Linked DNA regions of Homo sapiens: all the other regions are linked to region 5. The links are contacts of gene promoters, found by promoter capture Hi-C in blood cells and fetal thymus (Javierre and others, 2016). All regions are on one chromosome and are shown on one strand. The core of a region is centred on a gene start or on the middle of the fragment in contact, and the rest is flanking DNA. Distances in the headings are between cores, read along the strand shown. Region 1 overlaps SDF4 (stromal cell derived factor 4). Region 2 holds the start of TTLL10 (tubulin tyrosine ligase like 10). Region 3 holds the start of LOC124903819 (a long non-coding RNA gene). Region 4 holds the start of TNFRSF18 (TNF receptor superfamily member 18). Region 5 holds the start of PERM1 (PPARGC1 and ESRR induced regulator, muscle 1).

What was found. Contacts are between HindIII fragments. The CHiCAGO score rates a contact against its expected background, and 5 or more counts as called.
Region 1: a contact is called between a fragment that was not itself captured here and the fragment with the promoter of PERM1 in region 5, in 2 of 17 cell types (endothelial precursors and erythroblasts). The highest score is 8.3, in endothelial precursors.
Region 2: a contact is called between the fragment with the promoter of TTLL10 here and the fragment with the promoter of PERM1 in region 5, in 3 of 17 cell types (M1 macrophages, endothelial precursors and erythroblasts). The highest score is 6.3, in M1 macrophages.
Region 3: a contact is called between a fragment that was not itself captured here and the fragment with the promoter of PERM1 in region 5, in 2 of 17 cell types (endothelial precursors and erythroblasts). The highest score is 6.4, in endothelial precursors.
Region 4: the fragment with the promoter of TNFRSF18 here is called in contact with the fragment with the promoter of PERM1 in region 5 in 16 of 17 cell types (erythroblasts, activated CD4 T cells, naive CD8 T cells and 13 more); the score reaches 33.1 in erythroblasts.

The regions. Positions count from the first base shown.
Region 1 is chr1:1,221,841-1,224,540 of GRCh38, forward strand. It overlaps SDF4 (stromal cell derived factor 4), which reads right to left. Exons shown (of 7, transcript NM_016176.6): 3 at 1,992-2,128; 4 at 1,404-1,517. Among named protein-coding and RNA genes, the nearest start is that of SDF4, 8.8 kb to the right of the region's middle. The HindIII fragment of the contact is 4,562 bases long and covers 1-2,700 here.
Region 2 is chr1:1,172,436-1,175,135 of GRCh38, forward strand. It overlaps TTLL10 (tubulin tyrosine ligase like 10), which reads left to right and starts at 1,445. Exons shown (of 16, transcript NM_001130045.2): 1 at 1,445-1,491; 2 at 1,850-1,886; 3 at 1,989-2,054. It overlaps TTLL10-AS1 (TTLL10 antisense RNA 1), which reads right to left. Exons shown (of 2, transcript NR_173246.1): 2 at 621-2,700. RefSeq lists a silencer at 1,595-1,684. The HindIII fragment of the contact is 2,617 bases long and covers 1-1,917 here.
Region 3 is chr1:1,126,656-1,129,355 of GRCh38, forward strand. It overlaps LOC124903819 (a long non-coding RNA gene), which reads right to left and starts at 2,329. Exons shown (of 2, transcript XR_007065349.1): 1 at 1,836-2,329; 2 at 1-777. It overlaps LOC124903820 (a long non-coding RNA gene), which reads left to right and starts at 2,029. Exons shown (of 3, transcript XR_007065351.1): 1 at 2,029-2,103. The HindIII fragment of the contact is 1,585 bases long and covers 625-2,209 here.
Region 4 is chr1:1,205,298-1,207,997 of GRCh38, forward strand. It overlaps TNFRSF18 (TNF receptor superfamily member 18), which reads right to left and starts at 1,295. Exons shown (of 5, transcript NM_004195.3): 1 at 1,088-1,295; 2 at 73-195. The coding sequence starts at 1,274. RefSeq lists a silencer at 1-78. The HindIII fragment of the contact is 24,444 bases long and covers 1-2,700 here.
Region 5 is chr1:980,843-983,342 of GRCh38, forward strand. It overlaps PERM1 (PPARGC1 and ESRR induced regulator, muscle 1), which reads right to left and starts at 1,251. Exons shown (of 4, transcript NM_001394713.1): 1 at 1,223-1,251; 2 at 1-331. The coding sequence starts at 187. The HindIII fragment of the contact is 23,754 bases long and covers 1-2,500 here.

The sequences.
Region 1 (2,700 bases), core at 47-2,546, 240 kb after region 5:
CCCAGCTTCTGAGGTAGGAGGATCGCCTGAGCCCTGGAAGGTACAGCTGCAGGGAGCCGAGACTGCACCACTGCACTGCAGGCTGGGTAGCAGAGTGAGACCGTCTCATGAAAAAAGAAAGAAGAGGTGGTTTGCCTTGAGACTCTGGTGAGGAAATGTGTGTTACTGATAAGTTAAGCAGGCACAAAAAATAAAGGTGTAAGATACACCCAGCCTGCCAGGAGCAGCCCCGTATCACGTGACCAGTCCCGTGGGCGACACGGGCGCCCTGCAGGGCAGCAGAGAACCCACCCCAGGATGCCGGGCAGCGACGGAGCAGGCGACTCTGCACGTTCTCCTCAAAGCCCCAAACCAGACCACGGGCATGACCGGGAAGGGCACACGGAGCCCCAGGGTGGCAGCAACGCCACGGTACCCGCTCAGCTGTGCCTCACAACTGGGCCAGCAGGGGCTTCTGCCTGGACGGCTCTCCCAGACCTGGCCCCGTGCAGGGTGGCCCGGCTCTCCCCTCACCTGGCCTTAGCCCGGGTGCCGGGCCCCACCCGGCCCCACCCTCTTCACGCAGAGGCACCAGCTTGGACCCGCCCAGGGCTGAGGCTGCCCTGCTGGCCAACGGCCACACCCCAGACCCAAGGAAGAGCCTCTCCCTGGGACCTGACCGCTCTCTGGTGACCACCTGACGGCCACACAGATGTCTCCAGCAGACCCAGGCCTCAGGGCCAGGCCCTCAGGCACAGGCTGTGCCCTCTCCCCAGGAAACTCTGCCTCACGTGGCCTTCAGAGTACGGGGCAGGCCCCAACCCAGACTCACAGCCTCAGATTCTCTGCAGGACCTAACTGAGTAACGGCCGTGAAGGTGCCGTGACCAGCAGAGCTGAAAGCTGCCCAGGCACAGCTCACACGCTCCCCACCGGACTCCTGGGCGGCGCCTAGGTCAGCAACGGCTTCACCCACTTCCCTCCTGACAGCCACCACCAACCAGGTTGGGCCATGCTGTTAAGACGAACACGTGTGCACACAGCGGGTGTGAGGGCGCACTCACCTGCATGTACTCACGAGCCTACATGAACAGCTACCTGGATGTACTCACAAGCACACGCACAGCGCACTCGTACACACGACACGCACACACGTACAAGCACATGCACAGTGCACTCGTACACACGACACGCATACACATGTACTCACGAGCACACACACAGCACACGTACACACAACATGCACACACGTACTCACGAGCACGCGCACAGCACACTCGTACACACGGCACGCACACACGTACTCACGAGCACACGCACGGCACACTCATACACGACACACACGGCACACTCATGTACACACAACACACGCGCGCACACACAGGATGCCTGAGACCGGTGGCGGGAGCCTGGCTGAGCACTCACTTTCCTCATCCACTTTGAGTTCCTCGTTGAGCCTGATGGCGTCGGCAACCTCCTTCTCGCTATGGCCTTTACTCGCCAAAAACTTCACCTTATACTCGTCCCAAGACACGTGACCTGGAAGAGCAGATCACACCTGTCAGGGCCTCTGATACTGAGCTGAACTTCCTTCTCAACTGAGATGGGGTCTTGCTCTGCTGCCCAGGCTGGAAGCGGCAGGATGCCAGCGTCTGGAGCCCCAGGGCCCCGGCCAGCACCCCACACCCGTTTCCTCACCTGTGAGGCCAGCCGGCAACGTCTGTGCCTCGGGGCCACCAAGAGGCATAGACACCACCAGATGAAGGCCCCGAAGACATAAGAGGCGCCCTCCATGGGCCACGCCCAGTGCTTGGCACACACACCTCTGTCACCAGGATTCTGGCATCATGAACCCAGCTTCCGTGCACCCCACCACACCTCGGGGTCTCCGGCTGACACTTCCCCACCGCCCGTCCCTCAGACAGGGCCTGTCTGCCCTCCAGGCACCAGGCAAGGCCCATGGCCCTGCCCGCCCCGCCCACCGCCCCACCCACCCCGGCCCAGCCACAGTACCGTCCCCGTCAGGGTCCACGGCGCGGAAGTGTGTCTTGCTCTCCTCCATGGCCTCCTGGAAGTGCTCGGCCGTCTTCTCCATGATCCAGCGCTGCATCTCCTTGGCACTGATCTTCCGGTCAGTGTTCACATCCACCCTGCAAGACAGCAAATGGGCAGGTGGCCGTCAGACTGGGCCCCCAGGACCCCGAACAGCCAGACGGATGCCGCCGGCCCAGGACTCCATGGCTGCGTGAACCTGCCACCAACAGCGACAGGCTCCACCAGGCAACGCGAAAAGCGTCCGGGACGTGGGGCTTGTGGGGTGCCGGGCCACGCCAGAGACACTGGGGAAGGTGGATGCCACGGTCCCCTCCCCGGGGAAACACATGGACCCTCCCCCTCTGTCACACAGAATCACCACCAGACCCCACTCTCCAACCACAGCTTCCAAAAGTCACACTCTTCACGTTTTATTTTATTTTTTGAGATGGAGTCTCACTCTGTCACCCAGGCTGGAGTGTGGTGGCGCAATCTTTGCTCACTGCAACCTCCGCCTCCCGGGTTCAAGCGATTCTACTGCCTCAGCCTCCCGAGTAGCTGGGATTACAGGGGTGCACCACCACGCCTGGCTAATTTTTGTATTTTTAACAGAAATACGGTTTCACCATGTTGGGCAGGCTAGTCTCAAACTCCTGACCTCAAATGATCCACCCACCTCAGCCTCCCA
Region 2 (2,700 bases), core at 195-2,694, 190 kb after region 5:
TAAGCACAGAGGCCCTCGTGACCCACGCAAAGCTCTGAAGGACACGGATGGGTAGGGGACACGTGGCTGGAGGCTCAGAGTTTGAGGCAGAGGGGATCAGACCGTGCCATGGGTCATGCCAGGAGCCCAGGACTCCCAGACCTCGTATCATTAGGTGTTTTAAAGAGAAGGCGAGGGCAGGCCAGGCGCAGTGACTCACGCCTGTAATCCCAGCACTTTGGGAGGCCGAGGCGGGCGGATCACCTGAGGTCAGGAGTTCAAGAGCAGCCTGGCCAACATGATGAAACCCTCTAAAATTAATAATAAATTAATAATAAAATAATTATAATAATATAGAAAATAATATATAAAATAATAAATATATAAAATATAAAACAAAATAAAAATAAAAAATAAAATTAATATTAAAAATACAAAAATTAGCTGGGCACTGTGGTGGGCACCTGTAATCCCAGCTACTCGGGAGGCTGAGGCAGGAGAATTGCTTGATCCTGGGAGGCGGAGGTTGCAGTGAGCCGAGACCGTACCATTGCACTCCAGCCTGGGCAAAAGAGTGAGACTCCGTATTTTGAAAAAAAAAAAAGAGAGAATGTGAGGGTTAAACAAAGACACACAGAGATGGAGAAAGGGCAGCCTTACATCAACACGGGTACATTGCAAACACCTGCAGAGGTGGGGGACCAGCTGGATGCCAGAGCCCACTGCCGCCTACGGGCTGGGGTGCCTATAGGTATGGGTGGGAGCGGCCCGGGCCACACGGCTTCAGGATGAGGCCGTTTGTTTGGCCCTTGTTCCCGCAGAAGGTAATCGTGATGTTCCTCGGTGTTTTTCCCCGCAGAGTGTTCAAGTCAGGTGTCGGGCAGGCTGTTCCTCACGGCCCAAACCCCTGCGGAATGCTTCACTTTGGCCGAGGTCTGTGACACAGCGAGGGGCTTACAGAAAGGTGCAGTTTGGACCGATAGATGTGAGTCCCCCTCTGGGGGGCACTCACTTTGTGGAGCCCCCGGTTCCTGTTTGCAGAGGGGGGCACAGTGGCACCTCGTCCGCTGTGGAGTGAGAACAGGGACCCGACCACGTGAAGCACAGAGAATGCTCAGGGATCGGCAGCCGTGTATCCAGCCAACATCACCAGGGTGCACGCAGAGCCTGGCCCGGGCCAGGTCCTGGGGTGCTGAGCATGGGTGGGGCCTGAGAGACGGCTCAGGGACCATCCTGGGAGGGCCGGGCGGAGGGGCAGCAACTGGGGCTCAGGCTCAGGCAGTCCCAGCAGTGACTGGGAGGCAGCTGTGCCCATGAAGCTGTGCCCTTCTCCAGCCTCAGCCCTCAGCCCGGCTTCCCGGGCTGGCCCCGCCACTCAGCAGCCCCTCCCCATCCTCCGAAAACCCAAGCTCACCTCTGGGTTCCGGCTGGGTGGGGGTTGCCAGGAGACGGTTGCCAGGTCACCACTGTTGTTTCCTGGCCCAGGCTCCCAGGACCTTGTGGGCTGGGCAGGTAAGAAGCGCCGGCGGCCACCAGCTGGGGTCCAGTGGGCTCGGCCCCGCCCTCCTACGCCCTGCCTGCGGGTCCCCTCGGGAGGCTGCTCAGGAGAGGAGGAGGCTGGGGAGGGGACTGGACAGGGATCGGGTAGGGTGGGGCCAGGCTGAGCCTGCTCTGCGGGTCCCGGACCCCAGCGCCACCGTGCGAGAGGCTCGGGTCCAGGCCAGGCCGGGGAACGGTGTGTGTACCCGGTGGGGTGGGAGGGCTGGGCAGCCCTGGGACGAGCTCCGTGGCCTGGGACCAGGTCTGCCTCCGCAGAGCAAGTCCTGGACGGACGGCTGCTTGAGCCCACAGGTCGTGCGTCCTTTGACAGCGGCCTCCGGCCGGGAGGCACCAGCTCTTCGAACAATGTCAGTACCTTCCTAGGGCCCCACGTGGCCAAGCTTGGATTCTGGGGGGAGAACTCGCAGCAGGACACTAACATGTGGTCGCTTTTTGGATGATTTCTTCAGGTTTAAAAGTCTCTTCTGTTCATCCTACCGGGGTGCCGTCTCCTGCCGGTCTTTTCATCTCACCAGGTAAAACGCTTATTTTACAATTTATTGTAAGGTCGTGCACCAAGTTTCCACGCCGCCTTTACACCGTGTCCCCACCGAGGGGCGTCACAACCGTCCTCCACACCGGGCGTCACCGGCTTCCCAAGTCCCACCGCTATAAAGGACACGTCAGTCAGCATCTCGGAGTGAGACGCTTTCCTTCTGGATTCAGAATCGCGTCCGTCAGAGACTCCAAAGCACATTTGCTAGATCGACAGGCGTGAGGAGCCAGCGGCTCCCGGCGCTTGGGAGGCTGCGTCCCACCTGCATTCAGGCCCCGGGTTCACCACACACACAGCGGGCAGCTGCTTAAGAAACCTTTGATTTCAGTCCGGGGCGGTGGCTCACGCCTGTAATCCCAGCACTTTGGGAGGCCGAGGTGGGCGGATCACGAGGTCAGGAGTTTGAGACCAGCCTGGTCAACATGGAGAAACCCTGTCTCTACTAAAAATACAAAAATTAGCCGGGCATGGCAGCAGGCGCCTGTAATCCCAGCTACTCAGGAGGCTGAGGCGGGAGAATTGTTTGAACCTGGGAGGCGGAGGTTACAGTGAGCCGCGATTGCGCCATTGCACTCCAGCCTGGGCGACAGAGTGAGACTTCGTCTAAAAAAATTAAAAAAAAAAAC
Region 3 (2,700 bases), core at 167-2,666, 150 kb after region 5:
GTCTTTCTCTGCCATGGGGGAGGCGGGGTCTTTCTCTGCCTTGGGGGAGACGGGGTCTTTCTGTGACTTGGGGGAGGAGGGGTCTTTCTCTGTCCCCAGTGGGGAGTCTCGCTCACCTCGCTGCGGCTTCAGCGGCCCTCCGCGAGCAGCGGGTGTGAGGTTTGCTGGTTTGGGTGTCGGAAAGCCAGCACACCCGAGGTCCGGCTGCTGCACCCACAGGGTTCGCGCTTTGACTTGTTGATGAGTGGTGGGCACGCTGGGCCCTCGCTGCAGTTTTTTTATTATTATTACTTTTATTTTATGTATTTATTTGTTTTTTGAGACGGAGTCTCGCTCTGTCACCCAGGCTGGAGTGCAGTGGTGCAATCTCTGCTCACTGCAAGCTACGCCTCCTGGGTTCAAGCAATTCTTCTGCCTCAGCCTCCTGAGTAGCTGGGACTACAGGCACGTGCCACCACGCCCAGCTAATTTGTTGTATTTTAGTAGAGACGGGGTTTCACCATGTTGGCCAGGCTGGTCTCCATCTCCTGATCTCGTGATCCACCCACATCGGCCTCCCAAAGTGCTGGGATGACAGGTGTGAGCCACTGTGCCCGGCCCGCCGCAGCTTTATTGATCTGAATAAGCTTTTCCGCGTGGATGCTTTATGGTTCTTTATGGTTGTGTTTCTTTAGTGCTTGGTGGATATTTTCCCAAATGCAGCTCCCTGGAGGCGCTTGCCTTGTGAGGAGCAGGAGCCTGAGAGTGCGGAACCGAGCGTGTCCTTCTCGCCGTCCCCTGGAAAAGATGAGCTGTGTCTGGTCCCAGCACATGATGCTCTGTTTTCTGAAACGGCACCCCTGGGTCTCTGGACAAGAGCCCTCCCCATCTTGCCCCTCCAGCACACAGGATGCCCTCCACAGCCACTCCCAGGGGGCTGGACAGAGTGGGGCTGAGCAGCGGCCACGGGAAGCCACCGGCCACCCAGACCCCCGTCCTCCCCGGGTGCTGCCCTGGGCCTAGGTGGCCAGGTCTGGGGGGCCGATACCACGGGCTACGCCCAGCCCCACCCGGCTCCTGTGTGGTGTCAGGGGCTCTGGCATGCCGGCAGGCCAGTGCTCTCGTGAGAGGTGGGTCCCCAAGCCGGCCCCAGCGAAACTCAGTTAAAGGACGAGTCTGCTTTTGGGCCTTATGTTTCCCAACTCCATGGGCAGAGCCACAGGGCCGCTGCCTCCTCCACCGTGGCTGGAGACAAGGCGGCCCCGGGTCTCTGTGAAGCCCTGGCCACGTTCAGCCGCAGGGCCCTGGGTGTCATCGCCACCGCCCCACTGTGGCCCAGGACTGGGGCTTTGGTGGCCCGTGCTGTGGGAGTGGGGGCAGCCAGCAGCCAGGGTCACAGGCCTGAGCCTCGGACAAGCACAGAAGGACCCCCAGGTCTGGTGCTCGTGCTGACTGCCAAGGGCAGCGACTGCAAGACGGGGGTGCAGGTTTCGGGCGTGGCGCGGGCTGCGTCGGGTTCTGGCATTCAAACATATCATGCGGGACCAGGCCTGGGGTTACAGGTGGGGCGGGCGCGCAGGAGAGGGGAGCCGTCCCGGAGCCGCTCTGCACCCAGAGAGGTGTGAGGTGCAGCCTTTCCCCCCTGCCAGGAAGCGCAAACCCTGCTTTAGACCCCAGGGAGTTGGTGCCCCCCCCAGATGCCCGCGGCTTCTCCCACATGGGGAGCTGTCCATCTGTGAGGTCAGACCTGGGCTGCGGGCTTGGCCACCGCTGGATGCCAGCCAGACCTGCCCCTCTGACTTTTCTTGCTCTTTTCTCTCTGCTTTTCCGAGGCCGGCTTTCCGCGAGGCACTTACTTGAAAATGGAGCCCCGGCATTCCTGCATGCACGGACACTAAATCCAAGGCCAGCTCCTCTCTCAGAGCAGAAGTTAAAAATTATTCAATGCCAAATTCCTGGGCTGTGGAGCAGTAGTGGTTGTACCAGGCAAAGGTTCCCGCCGCCTTCCGCCGGCCGGGCAGAGATAAGACCATGAGGGCGCCCGGGGGAGTCCGCGCCTGGCCCACACTGCCCTCCGCCGTCCTGGGACCAGGCCCACACCGCCCTCCGCCCTCCCAGGACCAGGTAGGACTGAGGCTCTGTGGGTCTGACCCACAGCGTCTGGGAGGTTTTGTCTCAAGGGCTGGTGGCTTCTGATGAGCCGAAAGCCCCCGCACCCACGGCCCCACAAAGCTTTTCTTCCGGGACCAGCCCCTCCCCAGTCGCCTGGCCAAGGCCCAGCCCTTAGGGGCCTCCATGGTGTGCTGGGGAGGACCTGGGGGTCCCGCTGGTGAGCCCAGGGCACAGTTGTGGCAGGCGGAGCCCGCGGGGAGGGCAAGGCCTCAGAAGAGGAGGGATTCAGCCGGAGGGCCTTCCCCAGGGCTGGCGGCTTCTGCTATTGGCTGGGGGGTGGTGAGGGTCAGCTGGGGCCTGCAGGGCTGTGCTGGCCAGGTGGGCCGGGCCTGGGGTCCCACAGCCTGAGCGGAGATGCCTGGAGGGGGCCACAGGGTGACCATGTGCCCCCCGGGAGAAGCTGGGGTCTTGGGTCCCCGTGATGATTATGGGTGTCTGGGGGTTCCTGTAGGAAAAGATGGCTGCGAAGGCCCCAGAGTTCCTCGGGGCCTGTGAATGACCCAGCCAGGGGGCCCTCAGAGGGGGAGAGAGACTGAGAAGCCATGATTT
Region 4 (2,700 bases), core at 45-2,544, 220 kb after region 5:
CACGAGCTCTGCCTCGGGCCCTAGTGGAACCCCTGGCCTGTGTGGACTCCCAGAGGCACCTCCAGGACTTACCCTGGGACTGTACCCCCTGGCCTGGGGGACAAGGGTGGTGCCGGCAGGTCGTGCAGCAAGGGTCTCCGCAGTGGAATTCAGGCTGGACACACATGCAGTCCCACTCGGAACAGCACTCCTCGCCTGGGCAGGAGACAGGCCAGCCCCCCAGCAGCTGGGCTGAGGCCCCCTCCTCCCCAGGCCTCCCCTCGGCCCTCCAGGGGAGTGAGGTTGTCCGTTCTCCACCCACAGTTGGCTCCAGGGAGCAGAGGGCTCCTGGCTGGGAGTCTGGACCCTGGGTTTATCCAGCTGTCTCTTTCTCCTGGGGCCATGTGGCCTGGCTACTCCCCCTTTGCGCCCCACAGCTGCCCCTGCCCAGGTGCTAACTCCATATGCAACCAGGAGCTGCCCCTGCAGGACCCAGGGGTGGCCCCCAACAGTGCACAGTCCCCTGGAGGCCCGTCGACACCTCAGAGGCCGCCTGCCTGGTGTCTGGGCGCTGCTGTCCCCACCACCAGCCACACTGGGCCTCCGGACAGAGCCTCCCTTCCCAACCCACAGGCCCTGGAGGAAGAAGCTCTGGGGTGACTTCCCTGCCAGCTTCCTCTCCAGACCAGCCGTGTCAGCTGAACCCTCATCCCCAGGTGCAGGTCAGAGGCAGGCAGCAGGCCAGACGGTGGTGCAGGGGGGCCCTCAACTGGGCAGGAGGGGGCTGGGCGATGGCCAAGGGCTCACGACCCGCCCAGCAGGACCTGGAACAGCCGTCCTCCACCTCCAGACCCCAGACCCCTCTTGAGGGCGCTCCCACCTGGCTCACCCCTGCTCCCGGCCGGGGCCACTGGCTGGAGCTGGCACACCTCCGCCTCCCTCTGGGATCCTGCCTCCCTCCGGAAGGCTCCCGCTGCTGGCGGCTCTGTGCCCACCCTCCTTAGACCTCAGCAACGCCGGTCTGAGCACGGGAAGGGGGGCGCCCACCCATCCCGGCTTCCGCGGGACGCCTTGGCCGGTCCGCGTTAAGTAAACGCGGTTTACTTACCCGGGTAATCGCGGCAGCAGCGCGTCGTGTGAACCCGGCAGCAGCGCGCGTCCGTTCCCGTCCCAAGCAGGAGGCGCCCAGGGCCGCACCCGGGACCCCCGGTGGGGCGCTGACCCAGGCTGAGCGCGCACAGCAGCGCCAGGCCGCACAGGGCCCGAAACGCGCCCATCGCCCCGTGCTGTGCCATGCTCGGGTTTCAAGAGCCCACAGCCAGTTGGACACGCCCCGTCCCCGTCCTCACCCGCCCTGCCCGGAGGTGGCTGGGACCGTTCATGACCTGAGAATCCCGACCCAGGTGAAGTGCGTGTGAGGAGGGGGTGTAGACACTGCGGACACAGCCCGGTCCCCCGCAGGTCGCCGGCAGGGGCGGGGAAACCAGGCTGGCGGGGATCAGAAAGGTTTTCTATGCAAAGTCTGCGGCCACATTGGTGTCCCCAGTGCAGGGGGCGGCGTTTATAGCACCTTGTCCCATGGGGGCCCCTTGGAGGGCGGGGGTCAGCCAATCACTCCTCCATCCCACTGCCTCCGGGTGGTATCTGCGAGTCCCCGAGAGGTCTCCACAAATTCTGGCCACCCCCAGAGAGCCTCAACCATGGAGCCCCGTGCTGGGGAACCCCACAGAATGGGGACAGGGACCCCTCGGCTCAGCACACCCCACCTGGCTGGCTTCAGGTGTGAAACTCACCATGGGCTGCAGGCCTGTGGGCTCCCCTCCCCCTTGCTTGCAGCTCTCCAGGACCCCCCTCAGGCCAACCTGGGAAGTTCCCCGGGGCTTGGGAGGGGCACCAGGAGGAGCTGGTGGGGAGACGAGAGGGTGCTGGCGCCTCCTCGGGACAGTGTCAGCCGCCCCCGCGGGCACCCAGGGCCCGGTCTCTCAGAGCCACCTTCATCCGTCACACCAGACAGATCCAGGTCCCGGAGGGAGTTGAGGAGGAGCCCCTCGCAGAGCTCTTGGGAGACTGTCCTATGTCTTTCTGAGCCTCAGTTTCCCCTGTGGGCACCGAGGGGTTCTGGGACCCTGCCTCCACCAGGAAGCCTCCCTGGATTGCCCAGCCCTGCTTCTGCGCCGTCCAGCACAGGTGGAGACCCCCATGAATGCTGGGGGTGGGGGCTCTCGGGAACGTGAGCGTGGATGTGGTTCAACACCCTTTTGAGACCTGCAGCCACCGCCTCACCCCGTAAGGCGGTTCCTCCTTTTCCAAGGTAAATGACAGGAATTAGCTGTTTGTGACACCCCGGAGTTCTCAAATCCAAGATGTAGGAGCCTGCCTTGGAGAGGCAGCCCTCAGACACTGCAGAGAAGGAAGGGGTCTCTGCAGCTCCAGGCCGCCCCGACGCTCGGAAGGAAAGGGGTGGGGCCAGCTGGGCCTGGGGGCCTTTGAGAGGCCTGGAGATCTTCAGCCCCGAGGCTGGGAGGGGGTCTGGGCCCCTGGATAGAAAGAGGCGCCATCAGTGGCTCACGCCCGTAATCCCAGCATTTTGGGAGGCCGAGGTGGGCCTCGGATCACCTGAGGTCAGGGGTTCGAGACCAGCCTGACCCACATGGAGAAAGCCCGTCTCTACTAAAAATACAAAAAAAATTAGCCAGGCGTGGTGGCGCACGCCTGTAATCC
Region 5 (2,500 bases), core at 1-2,500:
GCCCAGTTGGGAGAGGTGGGGCCCTGGGGGGACTGCTGCCACTGCTGTCCCCTTGGTCAATGTCACTGGACAAGAGCTCGTCCCCAGAGGCCAGGCCGGCCTGCAGGAGGCCACACTCATCGGCGGTGGCTGAGAACTCGGCCCAGTCCTGGTCACTCAGCTGGACGCTGTACTGGAAATTTTCCATGTGGAGTCAGCAGAGGCACTGGAGGGTAGCAGAATGGGTCCGGTGGGGTCTTCATGGGTTCAGGCCCCGGGCACCACCCTGCACATGCCGCCCCTGCCCCACGAGACCTGGGAGCTCCCACCGCCTCGGGGCTCCATCCATGCCCTGAAAGGAAGAGAACAGCATCTCGAGGGGAGGGCCGCGCTTCCTTCAAACCTAGTGGTGACGATTTCCAAGTTAGAAGATCCCCAGCTCCCATGACCCTAGTTCCCAACGCACCCCAAATGATAGCTGTGTGATGATGCGGTGTTACATTCCTAGAATCAAGGATGATTTTCTACCAGTGAAGCTATAAAACCAGCCGTCCTCAGGTTTGAATGCTCTTTCCCATCACACCTCAGCTGGGGCAGCCTCACCTCCTCCACCTTCTGCCAGAGCTGTCTTTGCACGGCAAAGCACCTTTCAGGGTCCACCCGATGGGACCAGTGCCCTCGGGGGTGGGCAGCCCTGGTCCATCCCAGTGCGCCCCAGCTGGCAGCCGGCCACAGGAAAGGTTTACAGGGCCCAGCAGGTGCCCAGCCCTCGGCGATGACCTTCCGATCGCCTTGGCTGGGCCAGGCTATTCTCTGAGCTCACCAGGTGGTGCTGGCCAGAGCTGGCCCAAGTCAGCACGGAGAGCCTGGGCAGGAGGTGCAGGCTGCGGTGGGTCTCTTGACCCAGCAGCCACCTCGGGCCGTCCTCGAGGTCTGCACCACGATCCAGGCCTGCCCGGCTGCCCGGGGTGCCTTCCTTTGCCCCGTCTCAGAGAAGCAAGGAGACCCTAGCCAGCTGTCGGGTCTACCCCTAGAGGGGGCCGCCCTCGGCCTCAGGTCAGCCCCTCTGGACCCAGGGGTGGGAAGTCACTTTGGTGGGGACGGTCCTGAGACGGAGGCCAGGGCATGGTGGCTTCCCACCCACTGACCTTCGCCCTCCTCTCTGGTCTCTTGAGAAGCCTCTGTGGGGGTTGTTACCATTGGGGCCCCTTGGGTCAGGAGCCAGCAGCTGACCATGTCCTACCTGGGTCCCGGCGGCCGAGCTGGGCGTCTGAGCTGCCCGTCCTGGGTCGGCATGGTGCTAGGCTGTGGCTGCACAGGCTCCTCCCCCTGTGCCAAAAATACCACGTCCCTGTGGCCACATGAGACTCGTGCCAGCCATCAGGGTCCAGGCCACAAATAGATGGCATTTGAGGGCCCTCCAGCTACAGTACATGAGGACGACTTCCTGGCACGGGGCCGGGCTGAGGTGGGGTCAGACACGGGCCGGAGGACGCTGACCAGCAGGCAGCACCGCTCAGTTCCCGTGCCTCCGCCACCCGCGGTGAAACCTCAGACCTGCCCTCCCTGCCGCCCCTGGAATGTTCCTGGCCTGCTTCTGAGATGGCCTCTGTGTCCCGGCCAGGGCTTGTGCCTCCCGGTCCTGACCTCTGGGGCTCATGTGAGGGTGAGTGACGCCAGGGAGCGTCAGCGTCAGAGCCCCCACGCCTGGCTCCGCTCAGCTGCACCCTCCAGGCCGTCCTGACCTTGGGGTTCACGGTGCCCATTCCCAGGCAGGTTCCGAGCCAGAGGGGACAAGAGGACAGGGCGAGGGATCCAACAATAAACATCCGATCAAACAGGCAGGTGAGCTCAGCTCCGATGGCAGCACGTCCTGAGAAAGAAGTAGGGAGAGGCGTGGCTGGAGGGGCCGGAGACCTCTCTAAGGAGGAGGCTTGGACCGAGAAGCTCCTGAGAGTTCAGGGCACGATACTAGGAGACTGGGGTGTGCGCCGTGAGGGGTGGCAGTGAGAGCTGGGCGTGCAGAAAGTGCATGCCTGGTGCCATACGATGCTTTTCCAGAAAGTAGCTGCCACGAGACCACAGGACAAGGCGTCCCGCCACGCAGGGCCGGCCTGACTTGAGCTTTCACAAGTGGAATCGCACCCTGCATCCCTTTCTGCATCTGTGTCCTCGGGCCCACGCCGTGCTCTGGAGACAGCTGCCATGAGGGCCGCGGGCGACTGCCCGGGCGGGTGAGGCTGTCCTGTGTGAACGTGCCACGCGGCTGTGCCGTTTCCCGTGGGTGGCGATGTGGGTCGTTTCCAGTTTGCAGCTACCACACACGGTGCGGCTGTGAATATCTGGGAACATTCCTTTCGGCGAACCTCTCACATTTCCAGGACGCTTGGGGTCAGCGTCAGAAGGTGCCGCCCCGTTCCCCAGGTGGCTGCGTGGCCGTGCTCCAGGCTGGAGTTTCCCAGGAGCTGCGCATCTGCTTCTGTGTGGCGTCTCTCGGCTGCGGCCGCCTCCCTGTGCCTCC